2 separate regions of the Homo sapiens genome follow, and region 1 is linked to region 2. Evidence: promoter capture Hi-C in human tissues and cell types (Jung and others, 2019). All regions are on one chromosome and are shown on one strand. Each heading gives the region's core, a stretch centred on a gene start or on the middle of the fragment in contact. The rest is flanking DNA. Distances are from core to core; before and after follow the strand shown. Region 1 has its middle 150 kb from the start of STK31. Region 2 holds the start of NPY (neuropeptide Y).

Region 1 (5,113 bases), core at 803-3,302, 430 kb before region 2:
CTCTACAAATGAATTTTCGTCAGTATATAGGTTAAGGTCAGGATTAGCTAAGGGGACTTCTAAGAGATCATCTCGGGTGGCATAAGTCTGGACTATAATTTGTTGGCAGTTATGCTCAATTGGTTCCCCATCCTCTGGGAGAAAAGTGGCAGGGTTGAGGGCTGCACATATGTGTATGTGAAGCACCAGTCCCTCAAGGAATAGCGCCTGATATCTAAGCAGGTGGTTGTCTGATAGCCATAAACTTCCTTTGGCACCTAGTATGCCATTTACATCGTGAGTAGTCCAGACAGTGAGATCCTTTCCTTGTATTATTTTGATAGCCTCTGACACTAAGACGGCCACAGCTGCAACTACCTGTAAACAGTGAGGCCAGCCTTTTGCTACTACATCAGTTTCCTTACTTAGGTTATGTCACTGGTTGTGGAGTTGTCCCGCGAGTCTGAGAAAGGACTCCAAGAGCTATCCCTGCTCTCTCTGTGACATATAAAGAGAAGTTTTGTCCTGTGGGAAGGCTTAAAGCTGGAGCTTGTACTAGGGCCTGCTTTAAAGTTTTGAAGGCTGTTTCTGCCTCTGGTTCCCATTCCACTAGATGAGTATTTGCCCTCTGGGTCTTCTTGATTAGAGTATAGAGAGGCCTGGCTATCTCGCTGTATCCAGGGATCCATAGTCAGCAAAAGCTGGTGATTCCAAGGAACCTCTGCAGCTGTTTAAATGTCTTAAGGTGAGGATAAGCCAGTATAGGCTGTATTCATTCCTTGATGAGGGCCCTGGTCCCTCTGGCTAAGATTAGGCATAGATATTTGACCTGCTGTAGGCAAAGCTGGGCCTTCGATCTAGACGCTTGTACCCTTGATTAGCTAGAAAGTTCAAGAGAGCTAGAGTAGCCTGCTGGCATGAGGCTTCCGAACTGGTAGCCAAAAGTAAATCATCCACATACTGAAGGACCAGAGTGCCTGGACTTGAGAAGTGGCCTAGATCTTGGGCTAGTGCCTGACCAAACAGATGAGGGCTATCCCTAAACCCTTGGGGCAAGCCGTCCACATAAGTTGGGACATGTGGTCTGTGGGATCCTCAAAGGCAAAGAGAAACTGGGAGTCAGAGTGCAGGGGAATACAGAAGAAGGCATCCTTGAGGTTCAGAACAGTGAACCATTCTGCTTCCTCTGGTATTTGAGAGAGAAAGGTATAGGGGTTGGGTACAATTGGATATAGAGGAATTACTGCCTCATTGATGAGTCTAAGATCCTACACTAGTCTCCACTGACTGTTCGGTTTTTGTACTCCTAGAATTGGGGTGTTGCAGGGACTGCCGCATTTCCTTACTAAGCCTTGAGCTTTTAAATGTTTAACAATATTCTGTAATCCTTTATGAGCTTCAGGCCTTAAGGGATATTTCCTTTGATAAAGAAAAGTGGTGGGATCTTTTAGCCTGATTTGGACTGGGCGGGCATTTTTTCCCTTCCAAATTGTCCTTCCAATGCCCAGACTTTAGGGTTGATTCCCTCCTCAAGTAGGGGACAACAAATGGGTAACTTGTTCCCTATATTCATGTAATAATAGCTCCAGCTTTGGCTAATATATTCCTCCCTAATAAGGGTGTGGGACTTTCAGGCATAACAAGAAAGGCATGTGAAAAGAGCAAAGTCTCCCAATTACAACTGAGAAGGTGGGAGAAATACCTGGTTACAGGCTGTCCCAGGATTCCTCGGATGGTAACAGACCTTGAGGAGAGTTGTCCAGGATAGGAGATTAACACTGAGAAGGCCGTGCCAGTGTCCAGGAGGAAGTCAATTTCCTGGCCCTCAATGGTTAAACATACCTGGGGCTCAGTGAGGGTGATGACATGAGCTGGTGCTTGCCCTGGGCACCCTCAGTCCTGTTGTTGGATCATCTGGTTGGGGGCTTCTGGCCCAGAGAATCATTGCACTCTGGGGCAGTGCACCTTCCAGTGATTGCCTTGGCATAGCGGACATGGACAAGGGTGTGGCTTGTTTCTCATTGGACAATCTTTTTTATAGTGTCCTTGTAACCCACACTGATAAGCCATACCGGGTGATTGGCCTGCTCCATTTTCTGTCCTCTCTGAACCACCAAGGTTTGTTTGTCTGAGGGCCATGACTAAGGCCGTGGCCTTTCTCTGATCTCGCTTTTCCTTTTGGGCCATTCCTCTTAGTCCCTATTATAGAACACCAAGGTTGCCAGGTTTAATAATGCCTCCAGATTTTGTTCAGGGCCCAGGGCTCACTTTTGGAGCTTTCTCCTGATGTCTGCGGCTGATTGGGTAATAAACTTATCTTTTAGAATCAACTGACCCTCGAGTGAGTCGGGTGACAGGGGAGTATATTTTCTTAAGGCCTCCTGTAGCAGCTCGAGGAAGGCAGAAGGATTTTCTTGCTTTCCCTGAGTTATGGTAGTCATCATTGAGTATTTCATGGGTTTTCCCCAATTCTCCTTAGTCCTTCTAGAACACAGGTCAACAGATGTTTACGACTCCAGTCCTCATGATCTGAGTTGAGGTCCCAGTATGGAGATGGCTTGCTGACCGGTAGGGAATTTTCCCTTTTTTCGGCTGTCATTTTGTCATTTACTTGACTAAGATACCAGGTATCTCCAAACTTTTGGGCTGCAGCTAAAGCCGCATTCTTTTCATTAAAGGCCAGGGTTTGATCTAACAATAGCATGACATCTCTCCAAATGAGATTGAAGGTTTGCCCTAGACCCTGTAGCACATCTCTGTACCTATCAGGATCATCTGAAAACTGCCCTAGGTCTGCCTGCTTTAAATTAGAGCGGGAGAAGGGGACATGTACCTGGGTTGGGCCAAGTTCCCCTCCTCCTACAACTTGAAGGGGACATAACTGATAGCCCAGGGGTTTTTCTAGTCCTTTGGAGATTTCTTTGCTTGTTTCCTTCTGGGCAGGGGAGATTAGAGGAGGCTTATCATTAATAGGAAGGGGAGCTATAGGGAGGCTAGGATATGGGGGTAAGCTGAGAGGTCCTCCTGTGGATGTAAATTACAAGCTTTGCATAGTTGTGGATTCTCCTTCAATGAAAAGAAAGCTTGGACATAAGGTATTTCACTCCATTTGCCTTCCCTCTTACAGAAAACGTCAGACTGCAGGATAGTGTTGTAATTTATACTTCCCTCAGGTGGCCATTTTTCCCCATCAGAGAGAATACTGGGGCCAAGCCATAGTGCAGAAAAAAATGAGCTGCCTCTTTTTCAGGATTTGCAGGTCAAATTGGTCCCAATGGCTTAGGATGCATTTCAAGGGTGAGCTGTTGATGCCTGAGTGTTTCCCATCTGAAAGACAAAACTGCCCACGGTTTTGGTTTGTTTGTTTCTCCCCCTGCCTAAGAACCCGCAATGGTCCCTGGACCCTGCTGATCAGAATAGTTGCACTCACCAATGAAGCAGCAGAAACACCTCTTGCCCAATAACCCACAATGGTGCAGCCCCTGGACCCTGCTGATTGGAATAGTTGTGCTCACCGATGCAGCAGCAGAAACACCTCTTGCCTAAGAACCTGCAATGGTCCCTGGACCCTGCTGATCAGAATAGTTGCACTCACCGACACAGCAGCAGAAACACTAGTTTTTCCTCCTAGACCCCAAGGAGGCCCAAGGAAGGTTGGATTTAGTGGCCCTTACTGACACATTCTCAAAAACCTGTTAGAGTCCTAAGCATTTTCCTGTTAGTATTGGGACCTTACCACTGACCTATAAAGATGTTATTTCCAAAAAATGAAGTGGAGGGTCATACCCAGAGGGAGGGAAGGGATCTCCAGGGTTGAAAGAGTGATACCTTTTGTTCTCACTTATGTGAATAGGAAAGATACCATTTCTGAAGCTCCCCACATCCTAGCTTCAAGAATAGCTTTTGTTAGGCCTGCTAGTCTGAGGAGGGATCCTAAAATTCCAGATAGTCCCCCCTATAATGGGGCTTTGGGCAAAAATTATGCCTTTCTGATTGGTGAGCCTGGGTGCCTAAAGAAGGGAACAGAGTCCTGAGGTTTATACTGGAAATCATTCTTACAGGAGAAACTAGAAAAGCACAAGAGACAGGGAGTGGTTTTTAGAAGCAGGACTAGCCTTGGAGAAGAGAGGTGAGAGGAAGTTTGTCTGAGAGGCATTAGGACCCAGGAGGCAAGGGTCAGCATAGATAGGTTAGATGGTCGAGTCTCACTTGGGCGACATGACTTTGAGAGTTCTGCTCTTGGCCGCAGGGTCAACCAACTTGTTAGGACCTGGGAGCTGAATGGCTTTCCTCTCTGTTGACCCTCAGCTCAGCCCAGAAGTACAGGAAAAGCAGAAGCTTGTTCCAGGCACACCAACGCTCCCAACTCCAAATAGTTGGGGGTTGTTATAGAGTCCTTTACCAGAAAGCCTGACACCCATGTCTTTAGTCTGGCGGCTGTGCTAGTCACTTTTAACTGACTGACAGGTGCCCGGTATTTAGCCTCCGAATTCTAAGGAAAAATAGGACAGAATAGCAAGCAAAAGGGGTCCGATGGTACTCACTGCTTGGTGGTAGTCCCTTCGTGGTTGCCAAAATGTGTCTGGAATGGGTTCCTTCCAGTGGGTTCTTGGTCTTGCTGACTTCAAGAATGAAGCTGCGGACCCTCATGGTGAGTGTTACAGTTCTTAAAGATGGGGTGTCCGGAGTTTGTTCCTTCAGATGTTCAGATGTGTCCGGAGTTTCTTCCTTCTGGTGGGTTTGTGGTCTCGCTTGACTTGAGGAGTGAAGCCACAGACCTTCACAGTGAGTGTTACAGCTCTTAAAGGTAGTGTGGACTCAAAGAGTGAGCAGCAGCAAGATTTATTATGAAGAGCAAAAGAACAAACTTCCACAGCGTGGAAGGGGACCTGAGCGGGTTGCCACTGCTGGCTCAGGTGGCCAGCTTTTATTCCCTTTTTTGGCCCTGTCCACATCCTGCTGATTGGTCTGTTTTACAGAGTGCTGATTGGTCCATTTTACAGAGCACTGATTGGTCCGTTTTACAGAGTGTTGATTGGTCCGTTTTTACAGAGTGCTGATTGGTGCGTTTACAAACCTTTAGCTAGACAGAAAAATTCTCCAAGTCCCCACTTGACCCAGGAAGTCCAGCTGG
Region 2 (5,111 bases), core at 1,047-3,546:
TGATGGCTTCCTGAGCATATAACACACATGCATATGTGTAAGAATATATCCAATTGAATATTTTACACATTTGTAGCTTTGTATATATTCAGCAGTATCTATTCATTCCTTCTGCTTCTTTACCTTAGGTTTAGTCATGAAACCACTGGGTTTCATGTGGTCCAGGTTCTATCTGAATCAAGCTATGAACCTGCTATCAGTAAGACCTCCTAATTGCAAACCACATGGACCTTTACCGGTTATTTGACTTCTCTCGGTCATTACCTTCTCTAGTCTCCACTGATTCACCTCCTTTTGAATCTCAACAAGCTCAACAGTATCTCAATGTTATCTTAACAAAGCTGTTAGAAATAAACAACTTGACTTTGAAACAAAGGAGAGAAATGGCTCAGCAGCTAGGAGAAGATGCAGGGTTGAGTTGCCAACAGTTGGTTTTGTTTGTATTTTGGCCAGGGGATGTGGCTTGGACTGGAGAGAAAGGAGATAAGGATGTAAGCACATGTAGGGCATATCACCCCCTATTTTTTATTCTCTGAATCCTTAACCCTCAGAATAAGTTCTTATTCTTGAGAATCAATGACATTATCTTAAGCTAAATTAATCAAGCCTCCACAGTGTTCTTCTCTCAATAGTGGTGTGGGCCTTCCTAGAAGTAATTTTTCCCAAATTCAGTGATACATTTTAAGTTCAGATTTTAATTGATATGAATCTGTGATACACTCTAAAATAAGATTATTTTATTGAAAAGTGGACTGTAACTTTCCCTTTATCTAGGAAGAGCTCTAAGTTAGAAGATGTTTTGCACTTTTACCGAAGGCTGTGTCTTGTAAGCACCCCCGAGCAACTCTGAGAGCCTTGATTTTTGTGTCCTCAGCATATGTTTGTGTAATACAGAAAGAGAAGCAGTTGCCAAGTGAAAGGGATGTTGGTCTCCAAAATTATAGTTTGATCCCACAAACACACAAACACATACATGCAAAGGATTGTTTGCTTCACGGTTTTTGATATTTAATTCAATGCTGTTGGAACAGCACAAAAACTAAGTGTCAGTTTAACAGAATCACTTGTCCTTTTAGCATTAAAATAACATGGAACTTAATGCTTTAATTTCCCAACATGCCTTTTTATTTAGAAAGATTCAGACTTATATTTCATTTAGAAATAAAATGCCATTTTATTTAGAAAGATACAGGAGCATTCATTCACGGAACTTTCAGATCTCAGTCCACTGCATAAAATCTTGATCCTGTAATAATAGTTTCTGTATCTTGCATATTCATTCAACAGGTTTAACGCGATGAGCAAATTAATGTTCATCGTTTTTAACATGTTTCATCTTAATCAGAACCCACATTCTCAACGTTAATTGAACGTACATAGGACTATACAAGGGTTAGTAAATAAGACAGAAACTGTTGTTCATTTAACCACCGTCACTTTGGACCAAAAAAGAAAAAATATATATTTTTAAAATTGAGCTTAAAAGAGTCTCTAGAAGCTGGAAGCGTGGCTCTTTTTCAGCAAACTGGGGGAATAGGTTTACCGTGTTCCCCCTCTGGGGAATTTTGAGTCGCCACACTCATGTCTCGACCGAGCCTGGCTCGCTGCGTCTGAGCGAGTACTTGAGGAAGGCTGATCTAGAAAAACCAGCTGAGAGAAGGGGCAGAAGCCCCTGAAACCACGGGCGGGGGTGGGGTGGGGAGCGCAGCTTTGGGACCCTCTAGCCGGAGACTTCCGGCAGCTGCCTCCGACTTGTTCTAAGTACAGGAAAAATCTGTGCGCCCAGTTGCCTCACTCCAACAGCGCGCAGTTGTGCCCGGCGAGGATGCCGCGCTAGTCGTGGAGATGCCCCACCACAAAGAGGATTCAGGTGCTTCCTACTCCGGCACCCAGTGGGTTGGTAGTCCTGTTGGCAGGAGACAAGAATCGTCTGGGCTGCTCCTATCTCTGGCAGGACTAGACGGGGCGTGAAGGAAAGAAGGAAAGAAGGAAAGCAGGGATCGGGCACTGCCCGAGGGCAGATACTTGGGCTTTGGTGTTGTCCAGCGCGCTCGGAGTGCGCTGCCTCGCTCACGCGGTCCCAGGCCCCGCTTCTTCAGGCAGTGCCTGGGGCGGGAGGGTTGGGGTGTGGGTGGCTCCCTAAGTCGACACTCGTGCGGCTGCGGTTCCAGCCCCCTCCCCCCGCCACTCAGGGGCGGGAAGTGGCGGGTGGGAGTCACCCAAGCGTGACTGCCCGAGGCCCCTCCTGCCGCGGCGAGGAAGCTCCATAAAAGCCCTGTCGCGACCCGCTCTCTGCACCCCATCCGCTGGCTCTCACCCCTCGGAGACGCTCGCCCGACAGCATAGTACTTGCCGCCCAGCCACGCCCGCGCGCCAGCCACCGTGAGTGCTACGACCCGTCTGTCTAGGGGTGGGAGCGAACGGGGCGCCCGCGAACTTGCTAGAGACGCAGCCTCCCGCTCTGTGGAGCCCTGGGGCCCTGGGATGATCGCGCTCCACTCCCCAGCGGACTATGCCGGCTCCGCGCCCCGACGCGGACCAGCCCTCTTGGCGGCTAAATTCCACTTGTTCCTCTGCTCCCCTCTGATTGTCCACGGCCCTTCTCCCGGGCCCTTCCCGCTGGGCGGTTCTTCTGAGTTACCTTTTAGCAGATATGGAGGGAGAACCCGGGACCGCTATCCCAAGGCAGCTGGCGGTCTCCCTGCGGGTCGCCGCCTTGAGGCCCAGGAAGCGGTGCGCGGTAGGAAGGTTTCCCCGGCAGCGCCATCGAGTGAGGAATCCCTGGAGCTCTAGAGCCCCGCGCCCTGCCACCTCCCTGGATTCTTGGGCTCCAAATCTCTTTGGAGCAATTCTGGCCCAGGGAGCAATTCTCTTTCCCCTTCCCCACCGCAGTCGTCACCCCGAGGTGATCTCTGCTGTCAGCGTTGATCCCCTGAAGCTAGGCAGACCAGAAGTAACAGAGAAGAAACTTTTCTTCCCAGACAAGAGTTTGGGCAAGAAGGGAGAAAAGTGACCCAGCAGGAAGAACTTCCAATTCGGTTTTGAATGCTAAACTGGCGGGGCCCCCACCTTGCACTCTCGCCGCGCGCTTCTTGGTCCCTGAGACTTCGAACGAAGTTGCGCGAAGTTTTCAGGTGGAGCAGAGGGGCAGGTCCCGACCGGACGGCGCCCGGAGCCCGCAAGGTGGTGCTAGCCACTCCTGGGTTCTCTCTGCGGGACTGGGACGAGAGCGGATTGGGGGTCGCGTGTGGTAGCAGGAGGAGGAGCGCGGGGGGCAGAGGAGGGAGGTGCTGCGCGTGGGTGCTCTGAATCCCCAAGCCCGTCCGTTGAGCCTTCTGTGCCTGCAGATGCTAGGTAACAAGCGACTGGGGCTGTCCGGACTGACCCTCGCCCTGTCCCTGCTCGTGTGCCTGGGTGCGCTGGCCGAGGCGTACCCCTCCAAGCCGGACAACCCGGGCGAGGACGCACCAGCGGAGGACATGGCCAGATACTACTCGGCGCTGCGACACTACATCAACCTCATCACCAGGCAGAGGTGGGTGGGACCGCGGGACCGATTCCGGGAGCGCCAGTGCCTGCACACCAGGAGATCCTGGGGATGTTAGGGAAAGGGATTGTTTCTTTTCCTTCGCTCTATCCCAGGGCAGGACAGTATCAGGCACTTAGTCAGCTCTAGGTAAATGTTTGTACAGGGCACACTCTACACAAAATGGGTACCTTCCATTTTGTGCAACTACAGTCACAGAGTCGTGATCCCCAGATTCAGGTTCCCCAGGCTGGTAGGCTGGCAATCTCCTCTCACTCACCTCTTATGGTTTGTTGTGGTTCTTACGGCAGTGGGGCCCGGTCCAGAAATCTCGAAAGTACCCAGTGAAAGGGGCAAGAATGCGCCAGAGAAATGCTGTAGGGGGAAACGCTAGCAAGGTGTCTAGGAGAAACAGAACGACCACCAAAGAAAACCAAACCAAGGAGTAAACTGCAGGGTTGCCACAGACATTGTCAGACTTTCCGGCCTGCCCAGGGCTAATTGAATGACAGTATTTAGAAAAAGACAAATAGAGCTATTTTCTTTTCTTCTTCACTGTGTTTTTTTTGCAGTCTCACTCCCATATTTGAAAATTCTAGTCCCAATAATTAGAGATTTAGCCTGAAAACAGTTTATCTAAAATGCAGAGGTCTCCCTATTTTATAGCTGGTGAATTCTGAAAAGAAAGTGCCCACTTGGTATTTCATTAAGAAGAAACTTACGTTGGTCCAGTAACTTTAGGATGAATTCAGGGATTACATGGAATCTGAGAAATTGTAAACTTTATTCTGAACATTCCGAAAGTCAAAATGAAATGCCATATTTTCACTCTCAACATTGACAATTAAGGGAAAAATCAAATCCAAACTATTTTACAAATTACATAGGATTTAAATTTTGTTTTCAAAATTGGTTGATCTTAGTTCTAAATCATTTAATATCTTATTTTAATTACTGAGATTAAATGATTTTAGTCATTTGACCGTATCTAAAGGATAAGCCCTTTAGAAGCATTAATGTTAGTTAACATGTTTAAATTATATGTTTAAAGTATTGTGGGGTTTATATATTTATTTATTTAGTCCATATTTTTACTGTTTACAAGTCAGGGAGTAGTTGGAAAGGATCCAAAAGGGGGGAAGATTTATACTTTTAAAATAAAGTTTGCTTTTTCCTGTTTCATCAAAAAGGTATTTAACATCCTAAAACACTTTTGAAAAAGCCCCAATTTATATAGAATCTGAAAAACATGAAAATGCCAGAATTAAATAGTAGTTGTTTGTGATCCCTTGAAATCTGATCATTTTAATTAGCAAAAAGCAATAATATTTTATATTCCATACTTCCCAGAAAGTTAATTGATTCAAATTCTTGCTATGTTATGCCGTCATGCAGATCAAAGAGAACTTGTACAAACAAAAAGATATTAACTGTTTTTTCTAGAAAAACCTTTGTTAGTTATTTAGCTGTAGCATAATACACAGTAGAACTCATTTTTCCGAAGATGATTGCCATAAAGCTTTACCATTTTACAAAGCTCTAGCATTTTAAAATGTTTTCCTAGGCATTCTCTCATTCAGTCGTT

Evidence for each region. The method cuts DNA at HindIII sites, captures the fragments that hold promoters and counts their contacts. A contact is called where the count stands out against the background at its distance.
Region 1: a contact is called between a fragment that was not itself captured here and the fragment with the promoter of NPY in region 2, in 1 of the 25 tissues and cell types used here (H1 embryonic stem cells).

Annotation. Positions count from the first base shown.
Region 1 is chr7:23,857,060-23,862,172 of GRCh38, forward strand. No RefSeq gene overlaps it. Among named protein-coding and RNA genes, the nearest start is that of STK31, 150 kb to the left of the region's middle. The HindIII fragment of the contact is 3,274 bases long and covers 416-3,689 here.
Region 2 is chr7:24,281,894-24,287,004 of GRCh38, forward strand. NPY (neuropeptide Y) reads left to right here and starts at 2,297. Exons shown (of 4, transcript NM_000905.4): 1 at 2,297-2,382; 2 at 3,348-3,535. The coding sequence starts at 3,348. The region is part of intron 2 of LOC107986777 (a long non-coding RNA gene); the gene reads right to left. The HindIII fragment of the contact is 14,633 bases long and covers 1-5,111 here.